3 separate regions of the Homo sapiens genome follow, and all the other regions are linked to region 1. Evidence: promoter capture Hi-C in human tissues and cell types (Jung and others, 2019). All regions are on one chromosome and are shown on one strand. Each heading gives the region's core, a stretch centred on a gene start or on the middle of the fragment in contact. The rest is flanking DNA. Distances are from core to core; before and after follow the strand shown.

Region 1 (3,892 bases), core at 129-2,628:
ACACAACACACAAACATACATACACTCACACAATACACACACACAACACACACACAACATACACAACGTACACACACACAACATACACACACTCATACACAACATACATACACACAACATACACACAACATACACACACTCACATACACAACATACACTCGCACAACATACACACATGCACAAGATACACACACAACACACAACATACACTCACACACAAGATACACACAACATATACTCACACAACATACACACACAACACACTCTCACACACAACATACCCTCTCACATACACGACATACACACACACAACATATGCACGCTCTCGCGCACATATACACACACACAACATTCACTCACACACACACACAGAGTCCCAGCTGAATCTGCATTCCTCATATGCACATACGTGCACACGCACATACGAGGCACATGTGTTCTTGGGTTGGGAGGAGAAGGGCAGGCAGTTATCTTCCAGATCTCCCCACACCTCTGGCACATGCCTTTCCTGGGGTCCTGGGGTAGACAGGAAGGTGAGGTGAGGGAACAAGCGGGGGTGTCGGGCCCTCCTCAGTCCCTGTTCACAGAGTGGGTGCGGCAGAGACCTCAAAGGGACAGAGCAATCATGAGCTGAGACAGAGGGGGAGCAAAGCCGCAGAAACTGCACACTTGCCTTTCAAAAATGGATTTCCTCTCCTGGGATTCAGCCTGCGAGTGCCTGGCCCCTCACCTTGATGGAAAGGATGGTCATTTTCCTCCGAGCTCAGCTGCTGGATATCTTGAAAGTCCTTGGCCATGATGGGGCCCGGGCTGGAGCTGGAGCTGGAGCTGGGCTGGGCTGGGCTGAGGTTGCTCTGAGGGCTGGGGCTGGGGCAGAGGTGCAGATTCACGTGGAGGTTGATGGTGGGATGGAACGCAGGGTCGGAGGGGTTCGGGGTGGTGGCCTGGGTAGGATCTGAGGTTGGCAGGGCGTTTGGGATGAGGTTTGAAATCCCGCTGGGTCCTTTCCCTTCTCAGGAGACCGCTTGGGCCTTGACCTGGCCAGGAGACCCCTCCCCACGCTCATGGACCCGACCACCCACAGCTTCCCATGGGGTCCTCCCCATCCCTGAACCAAGGCCTCCTTGTTCCCAAGCATCCTCGTCCCAGTTGCCTCCCCAGCCTCAGTTACCTGTGAAAGGTGTGGAGAGCGGACACCTGGCTCCCGCAGGCAACCCTGGCCTTGGCCAAGGAGGGGTTAAAGCCAGGAGAACTGGGGCAGGTGGAGCTCACAGGGGAGAGGAGAGTGGAGGAGGGGCTGGTCCGGGCAAGGCCTGCACTGGAGGGTCTGAGTGTCCAAGCTCTAACCTGGCACCTCCTGGCCTGGGACTTTGGACAGTAAACAGAAGAGGAAACAGAGCTGTAACTCATTTGTGGGGTGGGGGCAGGGGACGGGGCTATCTCTGTTCTTATTCCCAGAGAGGGGGGTCCCCTGGGCTGCGCTCAACTCCACACGCCACTCACCCCACTCATTGCACCATTTGGAAGGGGTGCCAGGCCAGGAGGGGCTGGGGTGCAGTTTGCCGTTTCCCTCTCTCCCTCCCCCTCTCACTTCCTGCCTCCGAATTTACCAGAACTGTGGGTGTCTCCAAATATCCCTGACCAGGATCACAGCGACCAGTTCTCTACTCTTGCCCAATCCGGCATCTGAACCACAGACCCCAGCTTCCTGTGGGCTCGGCCACCAGACTCTCAGCTCTGGCCCAACTCGCTTCACTCTCCTGGAGAGTAAAGCCTCTCAAATCCAGAAGCTTCAGCAGGAGGAGGAAGGGGCTTTGCAGAAAAACAGCTCTCCTCGCAGGAGGAATCCAACCTCAGAGAGCCCCGTCCGGCCCAGACCCTGCCCCAGCCCAGGCAACACAAACACTGTCCTCAGGCCCAGCCACTGCCCTAAATTCTCCAAGGTGTTTCTTCATTTATCACAGCACAACACCCCCACGAGGCAGGACTTCTGTTACTCCCATTTCACAGGGTTCGGAAGCGGAGCCTCGGAGAGATGAGGCAACTTGCTCTAGGTGGTGGCCCAGGTGAGTAGAGAAACTGGCAAAGCAAAATGGAGTAAAGAGGGGAAAATAACATCATAACAAAAGGTCTGGCCGGGCACGGTGGCTCACGCCTGTAATCCCAGCATTTTGGGAAGCCGACGTGGGTGGATCACCTGAGGTCAGGAGTTCGAGACCAGCCTGGCCAACATGGTGAAACTCTGTCTCTACTAAAATACAAAAATTAGCCGGGCGTGGTGGCAGGGGCCTGTAATCCCAGCTACTCAGGACGCTGAGGCAGGAGAATCGATTGAACCTGGGAGGCGGAGGTTGCATTAGCCAAGATTGCGCCATTGCACTCCAGCCTGGGCAACAAGAGAGAAACTCCATCTCAAAGAAAAAAAAAAGAAAGAAAGAAAAAGAAAAGAAAAGGTCTTCATGGTCCTACGAGGAAGACTGGCTTCCATGAAGCAAGGAACGTGGCTGACTGTCTACACTTGCGCTAACAATAGCTCGGGAAAGAAAACACAGTTTTTGTGCATGATTTTCTGACCCTCACCAAACTTGGGCGGATGGCTACGGGCAGGGTTTCTTATAAAGCTGCTCGTTTCCCCGGGTGCCGAAAAGGAATTCAAACAGAGGCCTTTTCTGTTCTTGTAACTTGCTGACCCACATGGGAAGTAGCCACCCCCCCAGTACCCTGACATTCCCACCCAGCCACCAGGCAGCAGCAGCCGCTGGGCTCTCTGACTGCAGCCCACAGCGAGAGACGAATTTCATGCTGTGATCCAGAACATACACACAAGCACCCGCACACACAGGTGCATTTGTATGTGTTACTTTCTCCTGGATCCCCAGTGCCTGCCACACAGTAGCTGCTCAACAAGTATCTACTGAGTGAGTGAGTGAATAGAATAATGCGTTTGGAAATACACGGTTGACACTAAAGTTTGATGGGACAATGCTCACCTTACTACGTGCCTTCTGTTGAGTTTCCCAGTCCATTAATGGGTCACAACTCAAAGTCTGAACAACACTGCTGTGAAGCCCCCATCTTAAGGGGCATGTGGATTTAGTCCTGAGATACAGGTAAGAGCTTCACAGATGGATTGTCTACTGCATGTCAAGCTTTGCCAACTGCCAACCAGGGATGGGGCCATCCTCATTGGCCACCCCTTTGACTGAACCAATTCCACGTTTCAGGGCTTGTCACTTACACCCCCACTCACGGCACTACAGGGAGAGAAGGGACAGAGAAAGCCAGACTCATCTGCGTCCTTCTCTTTCTCCCTATTTGAAAATCATTTTAACTTAGAAGTTAACATGTACTTGGACTATTTCTGAAGTTTCCATATTGTTGGAGGTTTTCTGTTTTGGGTTATGGAATCCTATTTTCTTTGATTGATTTTTTTTTTTTTTTTTTTTGAGACAGAGTTTCACTCTTGTCACCCAGGCTGGAATGCAATGGCGCGATCTCAGCTCACTGCAACCTCCACCTCCCGGGTTCAAGTGATTCTCCTGCCTCAGCCTCCTGAGTAGCTGGGATTACAGGCATGCACCACCACGCCCGGCTAATTATTTGTATTTTCACCATGTTGGCCAGGCTGGTCTTGAACTCCTGACCTCAGGTGATCCGCCCATCTCAAACTCCCAAAGTGCTGGGATTATAGGCGTGAGCCATCGCGCCCGGCCTTATTTGGTTGATTTTGATTTGGGGTTTATTTGTACCTCAGACACAAAGGTTAGATTGGTCATATTCCTTACTTCATGACACTAGGTCTTCCTCAGAGGTCTGAGCTAAACCTTTGTCCTGTTTCGTTCTTCCCTAGCTCCCATCCTGTTTCCCCTCACTAATTCTATACTCTCTACTC
Region 2 (3,892 bases), core at 884-3,383, 280 kb before region 1:
CCTCAGCCCTCCAAGTAGCTGGGACTAACAGCACATGCTACCACACCCAGCCAGTATACTTTAAATCATCTTCAGATTACTTATAATACCTAATACAATGCAAATACTATGTAAATAGCTGTTGAACTGTATTGTTTTTATTTGTATTCTTTAATTGTTGTAATCTTTTATTGTTTTTTTTTCCTAAGTATTTTGGACCTACAACTGGCTGAACCCATGGATACAAAGGGCTGACTGTATTCTGATGATTAATTTTTGTATCTTTATCCTCTTCAAGTTAGAAGCCCCTAAAAAGCAGAGATTCTGATCATTCCCTGTGATATGCCTAGTGTGTAGTACATAGATGCCCATAGATGCTCAATAACTGTGCATCAAATCAACAAATAAATGAATGATGGGTGGCTGAAAATCAGGCTGGGTTACCTTGTGTCTATCTTAGGGCAGTGAACTTAAACATAGAACCTGGAGAATACACATGATTTTCTCTAATATTCAAAAATAATATGTTGCCACATCTGAACATGACACTATAGCTAAACTCAACAGCCTCATCCTAGCATGTTCACGAATATGCCAAGCATGTTGTCTTACCTAGTTTCTTGTTCACATCGCTTTGAGATTTTCTTGTGGTCTTTTCAATTTCATCCACAAGCCTCTGGCTTTCTGCGACCAGGCGTTCTGATCGGGACCTTTGAGCGTCTGCTCTGTGGTACTGGTTCTTGTTAGCAATGTGCCACTCTGAGGGCAGGAACTTGGGTGGAGGTTGTAATAGTTTAGCCATTTGAGGTTTCCAAATTCCTGATCAAAAGCAGACTCTTTTAGATTAAATGAAAGCAATTTGTCCTTTTTTATGATAATTTTTATTCAAGGATGACATATATACGGAAAATTGCATAAATCATAATCTGTACACAAAATAAATCTATCTGTGTAGCCGGCACCCAAACCAAGAAACAAGCATTACCAGCATCTCTAACCTCCTCCCAGTTACTCCACCTCAAGCCCCTCAGGGTAACCAGTATCCTGACTTTTAACACTACAAATTCGTTTTGCTGTTTTTGAATTTAACATAAATGGAATAATACAGTATGTATTATTCTGTCTCTGACTTCTTTAGCTCAACATTATGTTTGTAAAATTCATCCATATTGTCTATATGATTGCAGTTTGTTCGTTCTCGTTGCTGTGTAGGTGCCGTTATATGAATAAAATCTAGCTGTCTTTTCTACTGTTTATGGATATTTGGGTTGTTTACACTCCAGGGCCATAATGAGAATGCTATTAATAGTCTCATACATGTCTTTTGGTGAACACGTGTATGCATTTTTATAACTCATTAGAATTGTTGGGTCATGGAGTAATGTTCTGCCAAACAGATGAGCCCAGAGATGTTTTCTTAAAAAAAGAAGAAGAAAAAGAAGAGGAAGAAGAAGGAGGAGGAGGAGGAGGAGGAGGAGGAAATGTAACATGTGTAAACTGACAACTGGGTATTGAACTTGTTCAACACATAAAAGAATCTGAAAACTTCCAGGACAAAGAAAAGGAGAGAACAGGAAGGGGAACAACACAGGGGAAGCCAGCTGGCAGAGGCTGTCGGCAGTGGAAACGCTAAAATTACCCATTTCATCTTCATACAACTCTGATGGACCATGAGAACTGCCTTCCTCAGACAGGGCTGAAATCTGCCCCCACTCCCATCTCTACCCTAAGGTCTGAGTCCCTGCTCTTAGGGGCCTCTGGATCTCTGAAGCCTTCACATATATAAGGATGAAACTAGAGTCAGATCTTGACTAGGCTGAGAACCTCAGCCCACCCAGCCCCCTCAGACAACATGGAGTTTCTCCGTTTCTTCCTAGCCCAGTCCCTTTTATGGCTTCTACCGAATTTATCTGAGTGTGGAGCCCAGCATTTAACCCAAGGCTCCTGGATAAGTCTGAATAGCCCCCAGAGAGGTGGGGACCTAAATTAGGGCTCATCCCAACGTCATAAGGATTTGGTTAGGCGGGGAGGGTTGCGGGTAGGGGTCGGTGGGGTGGGGTCATGGTTTACTTACCTCAGCGCCACACAGAACCACTACGCAAGCTCGGGATGGGAGCCTCCTTACCCCAACTGGAGCTTCCAGCTCTTGCAGAACAGAGAGGTAAACAACGCGGTCTCCATGACAACAAGTGACGCGTTGCCAGGGCAAAGAGGGCTGGTTCCGCCACTGAGCAGCCTGGCCAAAGGCTTAGCGCAGGCGCAAATTCTGCGGACCCCAGAGCCAGAGACCCAGGAGTGTGGCGTGTGGGAAGGGTAGGGCCAGATGCTCCGGCCACCTCAACCTACCGCGAAGACGCGGGGCACCAAGCAGAAGACAGCGGCCAAAGCCCCGAGCTGGGAGTCAGGAGACCTGCGTCTAGTCCGAGCCCTCCCGCGGGCGGGATCATCTCGGGTCGCGCTGTACCCCGGCTCTCAGACTTCCCGGCTGTACAGTGGGGTTGGGCTGGGCGATGCCTCCAGGACCTCGCAGTCGCAGGCGAAATTGAGGGTTAAAAATCAGGAAGCCAAGTTGATTGTTTCTGTAAGCTACAATGAGTTTCCTCCAGAGTTTGTATAGGTCTGTTACCACAACTGGCTTATTTCTGCGTGGGGCGCCCGATGGGGCACTCTGTGAGGGCAGGTGTGTGAGTAGAACGCCTTCAGGCAAACACTCCAGAAGTCACTCTGCATCCACTAGGAGATGGAAAATATGGGAGAAAAATTAAATCTGAGGGGATAGCTCCAGAAGATTTAATATTTGTCAAGTAGGACTTCCAGAAGGAAAGAAAAAAAGAGAGAGAATGGCAAAACAATTGTGAAAGTGAGAGAGAGATAACTTGAGCCAAAGACTCAAGTCTTTAGATTAACGACCCACCTGAAATTAACACACACCCCCATTCCTTACATATAGTCCTCCCTGTGGATTATGCATATAATCCATAGAGTGATTAGCTCCAGGATCCCCCTCAGATACTGAAATCTGCAGATTCTCAAGTCTCATATAAAGTGGTGTAGCATTTGTATATAACCTACGCACATCCCTAGATAGGCATACTTTACGTCATCTCTAGATTGCTACAATACCTAATACAATGCCTAATACAATACCTAATATAGTGCCTAATACAGTGCCTAATGCAATACATAATACAATACATAATACAACACCTAATACCTAATATAATACCTAATACAATGCCTAATACAATACCTAATACAATGTCTAACCATGCCTACTCATCGCTTCATTCGCATGGATTCAACATAGCACTCAGGGTGCAACAAATTCAAGTTTTGCTTTTTGGAGCTTTGTGGAATTTTTTTCCTGAATATTTTTTATTTGTGTGTCATCGCATCCAAGGATGTAGAATCCACGGATAGGAAGGGCCAACTTTATACCTATTCTGGTGGAATTTCTTAATTCAAAGAATAAGAAGAAAAAGAAAGAATAGGTATCAAGTGTTTCGTCTCTAACACAGGTGGCTAGAAATGATGGTTGCTAGAAATGATGCTAGGATAATGCCTTCAAATTCTATAGAAAATTATTTCAAATCTGGGATTCTACAACCAGTCAAAGCATTTCATGTATGAGAGCAAAATAAAAGATTTCTTTGGACATGCCAGTACTCAAAACGGTGAGCGTACATTCTTTATGGAAAAAAATAATAGAGCAAAAGTGAAAAATCCAGAAAGAAGAAGATACTGGACATAAGACATAGTGGAACCAACCCAGCTGTGTGATGAAAAGAAAGCTCGGTGTAATAGCTACCGAACTAAAAAGCAATGAGTCCAAATTACAACTAAAAGTCAAAAGAAGTTTTGAACAATATCTTTAAGAAGAGTTATACAAACTATGATTCATAACCCAGAAGTA
Region 3 (3,892 bases), core at 564-3,063, 260 kb before region 1:
AGGGACCCACTTGAAGAGGCAGTCTGTCCCTTAGCAGAGCTCTAGTGCTGTGCTGGGAGATTCACTGGTCTCTTCAGAGCCGGCAGGCAGGAACATTTAAGTCTGCTAAAGCTGTGCCCACAGCTGCCCCTTCCCCAAGGTGCTCTGTCCCAGGGAGATGGGAGTTTTATCTATAAGCCCCTGACTGGAGCTGCTGCCTTTCTTTCAGTGATGCCCTGCCCAGAGAGGAGGAAACTAGAGAGGCAGTCTGGCTACAGCGGCTTTGTTGCACTGTGGCGGGCTCTGCCCAGTCCAAACTTCCTGGTGGCTTTGTTTACACTGTGAGGGGAAAACCGCCTACTCAAGCCTCAGTAATGGCAGATGCCCCTCCCCATACCAAGCTCGAGCATCTCAGGTTGACTTCAGACTGCTGTGCTGGCAGCAAGAGTTTCAAGCCAGTGGATCTTAGCTTGCTGGTCTCCAGGGGGGTGGGACTCGCTGAGCAAGACCACCTTGGCTCCCTTGCTTCAGCCCCCTTTCCAGGGGAGTGAAAGGTTCTGTCTCACTGGGGTTCCAGGTGCCACTGGGGTACAACAACAACAACAAAAAACTCCTGCAGCTAGCTCAGTGTCTGCCCAAATGGCCACCCACTTTTATGCTTGAAACCCAGGGCCCTTGTGGTGTAGGCACCTGAGAGAATCTCCTGGTCTGCTGGTTGCAAAAACCGTGGGAAAAGCATAGTATCTGGGCTGAATAGTACAGTCCTTCATGGCACAGTCCCTCATGGCTTCCCTTGGCTACGGGAGGGAGTTCCTGACCCCTTGCACTTCCCAGGTGAGACGACGCCCCACCCTGCTTCTGCTCACCCTTCGTGAGCTGCACCCACTGTCTAACCAGTCCCAATGAGATGAACTGGGTACCTCAGTTGGAAATGCAAAAATCACCCATCTTCCTCATAGGTCTCGCTGGGAGCCGCAGACCGGAGCTGTTCCTATTTGGCTATCTTGCCAAGTTCCCCCTCATTTTCTTGAATTACAGCTTTTAGTATTCTTTCTGATCCTTTGCTTTGGTTTTTGTTCATCTTTCCGTTGTGCTTTTGTTTTGTGTAATGATATTATTTTGCCCTTTATTGTCTCTTTTCTTATAGTAACTTTGTATGGGATTTGACTTCACTACTTTTCTACTGCCATTTTTATGTGAATTTTGTTTTCCATGTTAATAAAAAGAAGCTTGTTCAGATAACACATCTAACTTCTTGGATCCCCATCCATTTTTGTTCTTGTAATGTTCAAAAACATGATGGCCTGCTTTTGGAGATTTCCTGGCTTTGTTTCCCCACCCTGTGCTTTTCTGGATCTTTTCTTTCATTTATTTCAGTTGAGTTTTTCCAAGGGTTTCTCTGAAGTGTTCCGCTCCATCCTGGAAGACAGCCTTGGCTGACCAGTTTCAGGAGTTCCCGTAGGTCCTTAGATCTTATCAACTGTGCCTGGCACCTACTTGCTATTACAGTGGTGATAGGCTTTGGATCTGTGTCCCCTCTAAATATCATATCAAACTATAATCCCTATTGTTGGAGGTAGGGCCTGGTGGGAGGTGACTGGATTGTCGAGGAGATTTCTCATGAATGGTTTATCACCATCTCCTTGGTGCTGTTCTCGCGCTAGTGGGTGACTTCTCCTGACATCTGGTCGTTTAAAAGTATGCGACACTGTTTTAGTCTGTTCTTGCATTGCTATAAAGAAATACCTGAGACTGGGTAATTTATAAAGAAAAAATATTTAATTGGCTCATGGTTCCACAGGCTGAACAGGAAGTATGATGCTGGCATCTACTTGGCTTCTGGGAGGCCTCAGGAAACAAAATCATGATGGAAGGTGGAGGGAGAGCCACATGGCTGGAGCCAGAGGAAGAGAGAGAGAGGGGAGAGGTGCCACACACTTTAAAGCAACCAGATCTCATGAGAACTCTATCATAAGAACAGTACCAACGGATAGTGCTAAACCATTCACGAAGGATCCACCCGCATGAGCCAATCACCTCCAACCAGGTCCCATTTCTGACATTTGAAAATTACAACTTGACACAAGATTTAGGTGGGGACACAGATCCGAACCATATCAGGCACCTTCTCCCCCTCTTCCTTGCTCCTGCCTTCAGGATATGATGTGCCTGCTCCCCCTTTGCCTTTTTCCATGATTGGAAGCTTCCTGAGGCCTTCCCAGAGGCAGAAGCCACTATGTTTCCTGTACAGCCGGTAGAACCATGAGCCAATTAAACCTCTTTTCTTGTAAATGAGCCAGTCTCAGGTATTTCTTTACAGCAGTGCGAGAATGGCCTAAAACAAATGGGCATGTTCCCTCCTAGTTCCAGCTGTTGTTCCCAAATTGGCCTACTACAATTTTACCATTTTCAGGTTTGTCATATGTCCTGTTGTTTTCTTCCAAGTTCTCTTGCACAGGTGAGATGTGGATAACACATAGGTCTTATGGCTGTTGGTGGTTTGTCCTGTTTTGGAGTTTGCAGGGATTACTTGTCTAGCTTTTTGTAAATGTGATTCATGAGTATTTGATTTTGCTATCTAGTTCTGTCTGTTTTTATGTGGATATCCAGGAAGATCCAAATTCTATGCTGCCTCCACTGAAACTGTCTTCCCAGAAATGTATTACTTTTTGTCATTAAAAAGGAGGTATAGGAAGATTAATCTATGCACTGCATTTGGAAAGGTGTTTGTTTGTTTGTTGTTTATTTTTAGGTTGCAGTGATGGCAGGGAGCCAATGTTGATTTCTGATATGGGAGGATGATGATCAGAGCTGGTCATCTGAAAGATTAACTTGGCAGAAGTTTGAAGATTGAAGAAAAGTAGTGGAGTGAGAAGGCCAATTCTGACAGTACATCAGCAGTCCAAATAGGAGATGATAATGAGGGAAAGGTGAGTGGGAAGGGCAAGGAAAAGACAGCTGTGGGGAATTCAATAAACGCTGAATCAGTGGCTTGGTGGTGAGGGAAGGATGAAGAAGAGTTAGAAGAATCAGAATTGACTGAAAATTTGTAGGATGAATGTCTAGGGGAATAATATTACCCAAAACACCAGTGTAGATGAGGAAAATGATATGGTGACAGTAATAATGAGGGGTCAGAGGGAGAGCAGTGACTAATTTTTTTTTTTTAATTTGCATTTCACTAGCTGGAGGTACCTCAAGAAAAAGATGTTGTGTGTGAATGTGCAGGGCTGAGGGAAAGGTCCATGCTAGACACACAGATTTGAGAGTCATCTGCAAAGTATACTCCAGGAAAGATAGAACAAATGGCACTATATATCCACAGAAAACTTAGAAACACTATTCCTGAAATAAAGATTGCCTTTGCTCATTGAAAATGTTCACAGTGTTTCAAGTTAACAACTAGTAAAGGACCAAGAGCAAGAACTATCCTCAGGAAAATACTGGCTATAAAAAGAAAGACCTGAAGCTCTATGTGTACAAGTGGTGCTTGTAAATTTTTCTGAGTAGTCTGGTGGTGATTATTGGGGCATCCCCAGATATTGATATTTGGAGATATTTTCTCTGGGGCAATTCAGAATTTTTTTTTTTTTTTTTTTCGAGTTGGAGTCTCGATCTGTCGCCCAGGCTGGAGTGCAGCTGCGAGATCTCTACTCACCACAAGCTCCGCCTCCCGGGTTCACGCCATTCTCCTGCCTCAGCCTCCCAGGTGGCTGGGATTACAGGCGCGCCCGCCACCACGCCCGGCTAATTTTTTTGTATTTTTAGTAGAGGCGGGGTTTCACCATGTTAGCCGGGATGGTCTCGATCTCCTGACCTTGTGATCCGCCCACCTCAGCCTCCCAAAGTGCTGGGATTACGCCACCATGCCCGGCCCAGAATTTTTTTTTAATAGATTATTCTTCCAATTGCC

The links. Contacts are between HindIII fragments. The study calls those that stand out against the background at their distance.
Region 2: a contact is called between the fragment with the promoter of TEKT1 here and the fragment with the promoter of ASGR2 in region 1, in 1 of the 25 tissues and cell types used here (stomach).
Region 3: a contact is called between a fragment that was not itself captured here and the fragment with the promoter of ASGR2 in region 1, in 2 of the 25 tissues and cell types used here (adrenal gland and spleen).

The regions. Positions count from the first base shown.
Region 1 is chr17:7,113,444-7,117,335 of GRCh38, forward strand. It overlaps ASGR2 (asialoglycoprotein receptor 2), which reads right to left and starts at 1,379. Exons shown (of 9, transcript NM_001201352.2): 1 at 1,172-1,379; 2 at 674-867. The coding sequence starts at 797. RefSeq lists an enhancer at 1,531-2,317. The HindIII fragment of the contact is 7,513 bases long and covers 1-3,892 here.
Region 2 is chr17:6,829,596-6,833,487 of GRCh38, forward strand. TEKT1 (tektin 1) reads right to left here and starts at 2,134. Exons shown (of 8, transcript NM_053285.2): 1 at 2,054-2,134; 2 at 592-798. The coding sequence starts at 781. RefSeq lists a silencer at 2,097-2,146. The HindIII fragment of the contact is 13,856 bases long and covers 1-3,892 here.
Region 3 is chr17:6,848,671-6,852,562 of GRCh38, forward strand. No RefSeq gene overlaps it. Among named protein-coding and RNA genes, the nearest start is that of TEKT1, 19 kb to the left of the region's middle. The HindIII fragment of the contact is 4,954 bases long and covers 1-3,892 here.